Linked DNA regions of Homo sapiens: region 2 is linked to region 1. Evidence: promoter capture Hi-C in 16 types of primary human blood cells and fetal thymus (Javierre and others, 2016). All regions are on one chromosome and are shown on one strand. Each heading gives the region's core, a stretch centred on a gene start or on the middle of the fragment in contact. The rest is flanking DNA. Distances are from core to core; before and after follow the strand shown. Region 1 holds the start of CRTAM (cytotoxic and regulatory T cell molecule). Region 2 overlaps UBASH3B (ubiquitin associated and SH3 domain containing B).

Region 1 (6,037 bases), core at 2,140-4,639:
TTTCCCAAAGTCTTGAGATATACTTCTATTACAGCACTTAGCACATTACTTTATAATTATTTGGTTACAGGTGTTTCTCTGTAGATAGATTACAAACTCCTTATGGAAAAGCTGTTTGCCATCCACTCATTTTAGCATAATGTAAAATTTTAGATATTGGTTGAATTAGTGGATAAAAATGAGTAAATAGGCCGGGCTCGGTGGCTCACACCTGTAATCCCAGCACTTTGGAAGGCTGAGGCAGGCGGATCATGAGATCAGGAGATCGAGACTATCCTGGCTAACATGGTGAAAGCCTGTCTCTACTAAAAATACAAAAAATTAGCCAGGAGTGGTGGCGGGTGCCTGTAGTCCCAGCTACTCGGGAGGCTGAGGCAGGAGAATGGCGTCAACCCGGGAGGTGGAGCTTGCAGTGAGCTGAGATCACACCACTGCACTCCAGCCTGGGCGACGGAGCAAGACTCTGTCTCAAAAAAAAAAAAAATAGAGTAAAAGTATATATTTAGGAATAAATATTATAATAGGATGCTAACTTTGCTCTTTAACTGTTATATCAAATAATAAAGACTAGGGCTAAGTTAAAGCCAGAGACATGCAATGCATTAATTCTCAAATCAGAGCCCTAGTTACATGACTGTCATGAGGCATTAAGCAAAAGTGTGTTTTAATTCAGATCATTACAAAAAAAGATTTTTATTATTTTTAGATTGAATCAATAGAGAAAATTGCAGGTATAAAAATAAATCAGACTTGTCAGAATCGGAATATTTTTAGTACATTTTAAAGAAGCTGTCTCAACATGTCATCTAACATGTGACTTTTTCCTGGGCAAAGAAAGTATGAAAAGAACTACTCAATTTGCAATTTTCCTTTGTTTTCTGCATCCTACCCTCCACAAAACAATGAAAACAGAGGGTTCAAAATTCATTGGATTTGACATTTTCATTGTCTACAGTGTAATTTAATGGGATGAATTTTGAAAAATGCTTCATTTTTATTGTGTTTTTACCAGTCCTAAGACTATTTATTCTGGGAGTGGCCTTGAAAAGAGGGCAGGCTCTGAGATTACGTGACTTTTTTTTTTTCCATAAATTTTTGGCAGCCATAGAAGTAACACTGTAGAAGTAGTCACAGTGATCTTCCCATAATTTAATTTGCTAAAATCAGCTGACAGTTTATAGCTTTGCCAAAACTGATGATTTGCTGCCTTTTTTGCTGACAAGAAAGCAACATGGTCACCTCCTCCTAATTACGTCTGGGATGGGCTTGAGCAAGGTTAGGTCAGGGGTGGCAGCCACTGCTCAAATGCCATTGAGCTTAGATGCCCTCGGGTGGCCCCTTGAACGAGTTTTCAAATAGGACTTTTTAATATTGAATCCTCCAAATTGTGAAAGTCAGTGGTTTTCCAACTTTTGATCCACATTAATACATTTTCTGTCACAACTAGTACACACACACACACACACACGTTAATTAGAAGTTTCATGAAATAAATACTTTTACTATGTGCTTTATAGGCTGGTATTTATGTTGTCATATTCTAGCTTTAAAACTTGGGCAGGTTACATAACTTCTTTTCTCATCTTTAAATTGGGGATATTAGTACCTACCTCAGTACTTCCGCTATGATTAAGTGTAATTAACACAAAGTACTCAGCACTGTGCATGAAACAATATTTTTCCTCTCTATATAAATAATATTTAAGTAATTTAGGTTTACCTTGAAACATAATTTTTGCTATTTATTTAAAAAATGTATTTTTATGAGTTATTTTTTATGAGGCAATAACTCAAAGCCTGAAAAAGTTAAGGTCAGTGAAAGGCTTTAAACTCTGGAAAAATTGAAATCATCCTAATTTTAGCTGTCTAAATGTACTCTTTTTGAATGTATTAGCTATTCTTTAAGCCACTTAATGAAGAAACTAATATTATTCATTACCAAAATTGAATCCTTATTAAGTGCCTCAGGGTACAGGGACCAAAAAAAGAAGGCATTAATTGAAGTATATAAAATAGGGAATTGAAGTACTATGTAAAATAGGAAATCGAGTTTTTTAAAGTAGCGTCCTTCAGATGCCATTCCAGATTAAATGTAGATTTAGAAGGATAGGTGCATTTCATGAAACAGAACTACAGTTTCAATATTTGGTAACAAACACACAAAAAGCAAAATTTTTGAGTGGATTTGTGAGGGATGTCCTTTGCATGAATCTGATACAATTGTAAGCAGAGACTGAGGGACAACAGGAGCCACTTCCTACACCCCTGCCCCCACTTTTGGGTAGAAAATAATTTGACCTGCTCCAAAAAGGTAACTGCTTCTATCCTTAATTTTCATAATGCTACATTAGGATTAAGCACTAAAATCCAAATTTGAAAATTATAGTAAAATGTAAAGTATAACTTACTCTTTAAAAATAAACACGAAGTTTTCATTGGTCTCATTATTACCTCTGAGCTAAATAAGTGTTGCACAGCGCTTTATCATTTTCAAAGTGCTTTCACATTTGAAATTTGATCCTTCTAACAATCCAGGGAGTTTGGTGGATCAAAAGTTTTTATCATTTTCATTTTAAGATGCAGAAACTGAGTTTCAAAGAGATTAAATCGTTTGGCTAAGATTTATACAGCAAGGAAATTTTAAAATTCAACGTGGAGGCCGGGCGCGGTGGCTTACGCCTGTAATCCCAGCACTTTGGGAGGCTGAGGTGGGCAGATCACGAGGTCAGGAGATTGAGACCATCCTGGCTAACACGGTGAAACCCCGTCTCTACTAAAAATATAAAAAAATTAGCCGGGCGTGGTGGTGGCGGGCACCTGTAGTCCCAGCTACTTGGGAGGCTGAGGCAGGAGAAAGGCGTGAACCCGGGAGGCGGAGCTTGCAGTGAGCCGAGGTCGTGCCGCTGCACTCCAGCCTGGGCGACAGAGCGAGACTGTGTCTCATAAATAAATAAATAAATAAAATAAAATAAAATTCAATACGGATGCTCTTTCAACTGGTATGCCCTTAAAAGACAGAGCCTAATAAGCTTGTTTCATCTTGCCGTAACATAGGACCCACAGAGACACACACTATAATGATCCTTTCTATACTCCTTAGCCATTGAACGAGAGATCAAATAAACGCAGTAACATCCCTCAGATGCATGATTTGAGCATGGCTTGGAAAGTATTAGCAGTTACCTGGGTTGTCTTCTACAGCAGCTCCTCTGTAAATGCAGTTGACTGACTGATAGGTAGATGTGGCAAAACATTAAGTCAGCTGAGCAACAACAAAAATAACTCTAAGTCCTTACCTTGCAAGGGGAACCATGCCAGCAAGCTGAGAACTCTCCACCACATACTGTGCTGTGCTGCTGTGGCACCTTTGTCAACTTCCTCTAGATTCTGAGACAAATGGAGCTGAGTAGTTTCTTTTAAAGGGGGAGAGGCAGTAGATCTGTGACCTCATGTGTATCAACTCCTCCATCTGTCTGGAAGCCCCCTCTTAGTTAGCTGCCCCCAGAACACCTCCTGGTGGAACATTTTGGGGACCACATGTATTATCTTGATGGCAGAGAGGTGTGAGTGATGTGTTGGTGACAAAAATTGTTTTACCACAAGTGGGTAGTACTGGTAAATCAACTAGTTGCAAGGTTTTTAGAGGGAGCATGGGTGGGAGAAATACTGTAAAATGTCCCTGTGTAGTGACGTCATCCTTATTTTTACTTTTCTAGTTTATTAGATAAATACAATTAGATAATTTTTGCTCAACCTTTGGGAATATTTTATTTCTATGCTGACATCAATTTATAATTGTTGTCGGGGAGGAATTCATTCATTCATATAGATATACTCATTTTTGAAATCTATATATCTGTCCACCCACCCATCCACCCATCTTTTCATCCACCCACTCACAAATACAAATCTATTCATCCACCTATCCATCCATCCATCCTTCCATCCATCCACCCACACATCCATCCACCCATCCATTTATCCTTCCATCCACCCACTCACTCATGTATTACCTGCCCACTCATTCCCCATCCACCCATCCATCCATCTATTCATCCACACATCCATCCATCTCTCCATCCATCCAGCCAGCCAGCCATCCATCTATTTATCCATCCATCTATCCATCTATCCATCCATCCATCCATCCATCCATCCATCCATCCATCCATCCATCCATCCATTTATCCACCCATCCATCCATTCACCCATCCATCTATCCATCCATCCATCCGTCCATGACCTATTCATTCACCCACCCATCTATCTATACATGCAAATACTCATCCATCCACCCAACCACCCATCTATCTATCCACCCACGCATTCATCCATTCACCCACTCATTCATCCATTTACCCACCCATCTATCTATACATATGTCCGTCCGTCCATCCATCCATCCATCCATCCATCCATCCATCCTTCTATCCACCCATTCATCTTGTCACCTGTACAGCATCTAGTATGCACTACTTTGAGACATGCTCAAATAAAAAACATAAATTCCTTGTTTTTCAGGAGAATATAATCTAGTGGGGGAGACAATGTACATATGAACAGTTCTGGTATTTAATTTTCATTAATTGGACAAATTGAGATAGATTTAATGTAGTTTTTCCAGGAGCACACAGTAAAATATTAGTAAGTTTATGTTTAGAAAACAGAGATCAGTCTGCAATGCTTGGAAAATGAAAAGGAAACACTACTTACTGGCTCTAATTGAAATTAGTGTTAATACTCTGATAAATTTGATGAAGTTTGGGTAGGAAAAGTCTTACTCATCAAAAATGTCTTCCAAATATTTTGTTGGCTGGGCACAGTGGCTCATGCCTGTAATCTTAGCATTTTGGGAGGCTGAGGTGTGAGGATCATCTGAAGCCAGGAGTTCAAGACCAACCTGGGCAACATAGTGAGACCCCCATCTCTACAAAAAATACAAAAATTAGCTGAGCATGGTGGTGCATGCCTGTAGTCCCAGATACTTGGGAGGCTGAGGTGGAAGGGTTGCTTGAATGCAGGAGGTTGAGGCTGCGGTGAGCCGTGATCACACTACTGTACTGCAATCTGGGTGACAAAGTGACACCCTGTCTTAAAAAAATAAAAATAAAAAATCCTCCAAAACACAATATTTTGTCTTTCAAATTTTTCATTTTTTAATTTTTTCCCTTTTGCTCATAATATTCCATCCAGGAACTTCTAATTTTTATACTTGTCCTCAGTAGAAGAGAACAGTTTACCCAGGGTCACTCTTCCTCCATAGGGCATCCATGAGGGGGTCTCAAGGTCCTTTTCCCTTGCCTTGAGGTGGAGCAACTCTGAAGCTCCCCAAGGGATCAGGATCAGCTGAGATCTTTGTTGTAACTGCACCTCAGTCCAGCTTCTACCGATTCTCCAACTTGCTTCCTTCTTGTCACCAAGAGTACTCATCTATAAACTTCTGCACACGGATCTCTGTATCAGCTTCTGTTTCCCAGGAACCTGACCCACAACAACACTTGACATAGGTTGTCAACGAGTGAATGAAAGACTAAATTGACTCTTTATTTGAGATGTAAATGCTACTCTTTTTGCTCTGAAGTCTAAAAAGATGTTTGACTTACAATTTCCCCAGAGCATTAAAGAAGAGCTTACTTTAAATTGCACTTTGGACGATGGAGAGTGTATCCTTTTCATCCACGGGTGCCATATTCAACTGGTTGAAAACCTTGACAAATGTCACAATAGTCCACTGGACTTGGACATTAAGAACGGTTGGTGGGGGAAATGCTACAAGGTGAACTGGTGGACGACATACATGTGTGCTTTCCAGGGTCCCTGTTCTCATTACCCCCACTTCAGCCTGCAGCTCATGTAGTATTCAACAGGAGAGGGCAGCAGATTGTGGCTGCTCAGTGAATTGGGAGAAAAAGACGAGGTTGGAAGGTAATAAGTGGTCTACCTATTTTCTAATGGGAAAGAGTCTACTGAACAGTATGTGGGAGACCTCACAACTGATAGCTAGTTTGTCATTTTGGTCTCCGTTTTATGAAATCTT
Region 2 (6,037 bases), core at 2,079-4,578, 48 kb after region 1:
ATTATCAGAATTTTATTTTATTTTAGAGACGGAGTATTGCTCTTGTCGCCCAGGCTGAAGGGCAATGACATGATCTGGGCTCACTGCAACCTCCACCCTGCAGGTTCAAGCGATTTTCCTGCCTCAGCCTCTGGAGTAGCTGGGATTACAGGCGTGCGTCACCACGCCCGGCTAATTTTTGTATTTTTAGTAGAGATGGGGTTTCACCATGTTGGCCAGGCTGGTCTCAAACTCCTGACCTCAGGTGATCTGCCTGCTTGGCCTCCCAAAGTCATGCTGGGATTACAGGAGTGAGCCACTGCACCTGGCCCATAATTTTATTTTTGAAAATACCTTTTTATATTCACCAATATAATACAGCAAACTGGTTGTTAGTAAATTTTTGTTCCTTCACTTTCAGAAGTGGCTCCTTTTTCACTAGAAGTGATAGACTCATTCTATCTACTTATAAACGAAGTCTCAGAAGTCTCATGCCCTGAAAAACTGATTTTGAACCCTTGTGCATATCAGAATCACCAGGAGACTTAAAAAAAATACACTCGTGCTGGGGTTCTGCTCCTCACACATTGTGACTCAGTAGGTCAGGGGTGGGACCCAGGAACCTACAGTTCAACAAAGCAGCATCAGTCCATCTGCGTATGTTGCCAAGTGAAACCTGTTACAGTAAAATTTAAGTAACTGTAGCCCAAGGAAATCTTGTGCCGTTCACACAGTATAATAGACCAGCTATTCTACTTTATTTTAAACTAAGACCCTCCCAAACATCACACAGTTCAAGAAAATCCAGTTTGGCTGGGCACAGCGGCTCACGTCTGTAATTCTAGCACTTTGAGAGGCCGAGGCAGGCAGATCACCTGGGGTTAGGAGTTCAAGACCAGCCTGGCCAACGTGGTGAAACCCCGTCTCTATTCAAAATACAAAAATTAGCTGGGCGTGGTGGCACACACCTGTAGTCCTGGCTACTCGGGGGGCTGAGGCAGGAGAATCACTGGAACCCAGAAGGCAGAGGTTACAGTGAGCTAACATTGCACCACTGTGCTCCAGCCTGGGCAACAGAGTGAGACTCCATCTCAGAAAAAATTAAAAAAAAAAAAAAGAAAAAAAAAAAGAAAATCCAGTTTTATTGTCTGACTCATCAAAGCTTCAGGGTGCAAAATGTCTGGCTACCTAGAATCGTTCTTGTACATATCTGTTTGTTTCTTTATCGCAGCTGTGAAGATACTGATAGGATCCCTTCTCTCCCTCCTTCGTCTCCCATGGCAAGACGAATGCCAGCCTCTTTCCCTTCTTAACTGTCATTATAATCAAAGGACCTGACTCACTCTGAGACAGCGTGGAGCTGCCAGTTCCAGTAAGAAAACAGTCAGATGCTTCTTGCTCAGAACAGTGGAGGGAGGAAGCCGGGCCTGACATCCAGAACATCTCAAGCATCGGGAGAGCTGGCTTCTCCCTGCAACACACCAGGCCTGTGCTAAGCCCAAGCGGCCAGGCAGCTCACCCAGCTTCATCAACTTGTCTTGGTTCATAACTCAGAACCAAGTAAGACACTCCAGTTAGTGTGGAGAGAACATATTTCCTTAGGAGGGACTCAGAGAACTGAGAAGCACTTGGCAGGGAGTGTTGTCAAAATCATTGACCCCCAGTCATGACTTGTTGCCTGGATCCCCTGGGCAACTCCCACCATGCCAGCCAGGCCATGCTTGACATCCCCCTGGGGCTCTACCTCCTGATGTCTCTCTTGGGTTAGGAGAGAGAGAAGGTCTGTGTCTGTCTTACAAGGAAGCTGGGCTCTGCCTCCTTGAGTCATTTGACCTCTGGGGTTAAATAGGAAAGTGCAGTTCATCTACAGGATTGCTTTTATGGAAGACACATTTCCTTTGATGAGCACTAAGTGAGGACTGGCAAACACAAGATAGAAAAAAGAGAATAATCATCATTATGCAAATGGCGATTTTATAGTCACCGCTATACACCAGACTCTGAACCATGTAAAGCTAAGCTCTGTATTGCAGTCTTCCCAACAACCTTATGAGGTAAGTGCAATTATTAGTTCCATTTTCTAGATGAGCAAACAGAGGCTCAGAGAGGTAATGCAACTTTGCCAAGGCCACACAGCTGGTAAGTGGGAGAGTTATCGTTTAAATCCAAGACTATTGGAATCCAGTCTCAAATTCTTAATCACAATAAACTAATGCCTAACTTATTTACCTACTTTGAGCAGGGTTGGCTGTGGAAGCTGTTAGTTTAATTTCAGACATTGTTCTCAGAGACATGACATCATTAGTAATCTCTCGAATAAAAGATGACACAAAGACCTCCCTGGGACGCACTGACCGAAGTCACTCAGGTTCACCTATACATCGGCCTGAGTTGTAATTTAGGGAAGAGTGGGTTTGGATGGAGTGAACTCTAAGAGATCAGCACTGCTTCTCATATACCTCCACTTTTTTTTTTTTTTCAGACAAAGTCTTGCTCTGTTGCCCAGGCTGGAGTGCAGTTGCGTGATCTCAGCTCACTGCAACCTCCACCTCCTAGGTTCAAGTGATTCTCCTGCCTCAGCCTCCTGAGTAGCTGGGACTACAGGTGTATGCCACCACGCCCAGCTGATTTTTTTTTTTATTTTTGGTAGAGACGCGGTTTCACCATGTTGGTTTGGCAGGTCTTGAACTCCTGACCTCAAGTGATCCACCCACCCTGGCCTCCCAAAGTGCTGGGATTACAGGTGTGAGCCACCGCACCTGGCCATACACCCACTTTTAAGAAAGAGATCTGATAAAACAGCAACTCCAAGTACTGTAAAATAAAAAATAACAGATCTGAGAACTGTGCTTTGTCAGGCAAATAATGTTTTAGTTCTCAGTTTATTCACGCATATTTTGCTTTACTTGTTGTTGTAGGGATTAAAATGGAGACTTTGGAAACCCAGCTTATATATTTTGATCTTCCAAAGCATTTCTGAAAAAGCAAAATGTTTGGGGAACATAAGACAGCTTTGACCTCTAATTTTGTGCCATCCAATTCTGGAGGCTCATGGGCTGGGCTGAGGTGGGAGCAGAGTGAGGGAGAGGGGGAGGGATTGCTGGGTGGGGTTATTGAGGAAGAAAATATTCTTTCCCATCTTTGGATTTGTGGTTTGTCTGTTTGTGGCTCACTAGGGTAGGGGACCTTTATTTTCTCCTTCCAGGCAAAAGACTTGATGAAATCATCTCTCTCTGCTTCTCCTTTATGGCAATAATAACAATATTAGCCACCAAGCAGCTGGCGCTCAGGGCTTCTGCCTCTCAGCCATGTTGCCACATGACAAAAACAAGTGGGAGAAAAACAAACCAGCATGCAGACCCTGGCTAGATGCCCCAGTGTGCCAGGGAAGCGCTGGCTTTGAGCTGCTCCAACTAAGAAAGAGAAGATGGCTTTTGTTTCTATTTTATCTATTGGGACAAAGTTGGCCACTGAATGTGGTACCAGTATGGAATGGGGGCAAAATAGTAATGAGGGACGGGTGGAAAGTTATTACCCTAAAGAAGACTGGCAGAGGGGAGGGGGGAAATGGACCCCTTTTCAGTCTGGCAGTTGCCTGTTCCCTTAGACATGGTCTTTGTTGTCTAGGCATGCATAGGCTGTGTCTGGGGACTTGCTCAGGGTCACTTAGCAAATCAAGGATACAGTTAGGGCTCCTGCCTCTTGAAACCCCCTTCTCTATTGGTCTGGATGGCAGGGTAGTAATCCGCCCAGCTGCTTCGGGAAATCAGACCACCCTGACTCATGACCCAGGATAAGGTGGACAGAAGCCCTAAAGCAGTGAAGACGCAGCACTGGGATGATGCCACTCTTCGGCCAGAAGAGATGGACCCCAAGCCACCTCAGTTTAGTCTCTGATCAGGAACTGAAGCAGACAACCATGGCAAATGGGGCAGGCAGAGGGAAGCAGAGCAATCCATTTCGCATTTTCCCCATGCCTCAAATCAGCTCCTTTCCTGGAATTCTGGAATCCACAGGGCCTTCTTCCCATGGACTCCATTTACTGCTGCCCTGTGTATCCAGGATCCAGTCTGCCTTAGCAACATTCTTCAAATGGCATAAAGGTCTTTGTGTCTGCTTACCCATGAAATATCCAGGTGCTGCATTCATCAGCCTTGGTAATGTAATTCTCAGGCAGGAGTCCAGAGCAGCCGGTGGTTAAGGACGTGCCATAGATCCAACCCTCGCTGGTGCTGGTCTGCTCCATTGGAGACATGAAGATGAAGTCCCCGGGGACCAGCTCCAGCTCATCGTCATTTTGTGGGGTATAGGGGTAGATGACCTGTAATGTCTGGAAAAGGAAGAGAGGGTGAGTGAGCCCCATGCCTCACCATTCTCCTGAGCGCCTTGAGGGCAGGACTGTATGTTCTGCATTAATACTGCACACCTCCAGAGGGCGATGTGCCCAGGAGCCCTTGGGGTCTGCAGGCCCTGAGTAGATGTGAATTCCTATCAGAGAGCACTTCTCTCTTCAGGGTATTGACGGTGTATGCCTGGTGCTAGAAATGGTTTCATACTTTTCTTCAGGCATGTCTAGATTTCCCATCAGGATTCAAGTATCGTTTTTGGAAATTGACCTGAAATCCTGTAGGCTCTCTGGCCAACTGCTGTATAAATGGACATGGACCTAGCTTCCCTTGCTTCATCTGATAGTCACCATGATAGACACCTGAAACCCAGCTCATGGAAAGCCAGTCTTCCATACGGGGGTTACAGAGGGGCCAGGTGGAGTGTCTCTCCTCCAGGAAGGCTCAGGGAATGAAGTACCCCCTTTCTGTGTAACATAGCTCTTTATTTATGAATTATTATTATTATTATTTTGAGATAGAGTTTCACTCTTGTTGCCCAGGCTGGAGTGCAATGGCATGATCTCAGCACACTGTAGCCTCTGCCTCCTGGGTTCAAGTGATTCTCTTGCCTCAGCCTCCCTGGTAGCTAGGATTTCAGGCGGCCGCCACCACACCTGGCTAATTTTTGTATTTTTAGTAGAGACAGGGTTTCACCATGTTGGCCAGGCTGGTCTCGAACTCCTGACCTCAGGTGATTCCCCTCTCTTGGCCTCCCAAAGTGCTGAGATTACAGGTGTGAGTCACCATGCCCGGCCAACTTAGCTCTTTAAACCAGACATGGTTCTTGCCTTAAAGGAGTTTTCTTTAAACCTATAGTTTTAACAAAGATCCTGAAAGAAAAATGTCTAGACATCAGTGTCTATGTCAGCATGTAGCCAGCTTTCATCAGATGGAGAAAACGTTCTTACTTTGGGCTCCGAAACAGCCCCCAGGCCAAAAACAGGCCATGCCAGTTGGCTATTTATTCTTTATTTCTTTTTGCCTTCGTTTCCTGGTATGTATTAACATCACAGGTATAGGCATGAAGGTACTGTAGAGAACATTTATTTTAGTATTTTTTGTTACTAATAGTGGGAGACCTCAATAGTAAGGAAAATATTTCCTATCTTATTTGTTTCACAAGGGACACAAAGACGGAGAAAGCTTTAACAGCTTTTACTGTTTTCTAGGGTCTCAAAGCCGTTAGTTGAAGGCTAAATATTCTGGTCTCCATTTGCATATTTCTAACTTTGGCTTCAGGCTTCAGTTTCCTCATCTATAAAATAATACTTAAGCCCATAAAAGTTAAATGAGACAATCTAAGAAAACACCTTAGGACAGAGCCTTGTGCACCGAAGGGGCATAATTATTTCTACAGAACCAGAGCACCTGATCTCCCACGTCACATCCTTCCTTCCAGCCGACCCTGATCCCTGGACTCTGTGCTGGGTAGGCCTGTGAACTAATTGGCTGGTTGATGTCAAGGTGATACACCAGAACATGTTATAAAGAGAGAATTTCCTTCTGGAAATCGCTAAAGAAAGGAGCCAGTAAAGGTGTGATTCTTTTCAGAGGATGAGAGTGATTGTGCAGAGAGCTCATTTGCACCGCTGCATTTCCGATTTTCCTTTTATGTAGGGCACCTGTTTGTTTCCCTAATTCTGACTTCAGCATCTTTCAGTTCTAGGTCT

What was found. The method cuts DNA at HindIII sites, captures the fragments that hold promoters and counts their contacts. A CHiCAGO score of 5 or more calls a contact.
Region 2: a contact is called between a fragment that was not itself captured here and the fragment with the promoter of CRTAM in region 1, in 2 of 17 cell types (naive CD8 T cells and total CD8 T cells). The highest score is 6.9, in naive CD8 T cells.

The regions. Positions count from the first base shown.
Region 1 is chr11:122,835,852-122,841,888 of GRCh38, reverse strand. CRTAM (cytotoxic and regulatory T cell molecule) reads right to left here and starts at 3,389. Exons shown (of 10, transcript NM_019604.4): 1 at 3,297-3,389. The coding sequence starts at 3,342. The HindIII fragment of the contact is 4,925 bases long and covers 3,032-6,037 here.
Region 2 is chr11:122,787,372-122,793,408 of GRCh38, reverse strand. UBASH3B (ubiquitin associated and SH3 domain containing B) reads right to left here. Exons shown (of 14, transcript NM_032873.5): 6 at 4,101-4,309. Among named protein-coding and RNA genes, the nearest start is that of CRTAM, 48 kb to the left of the region's middle. The HindIII fragment of the contact is 4,369 bases long and covers 1,144-5,512 here.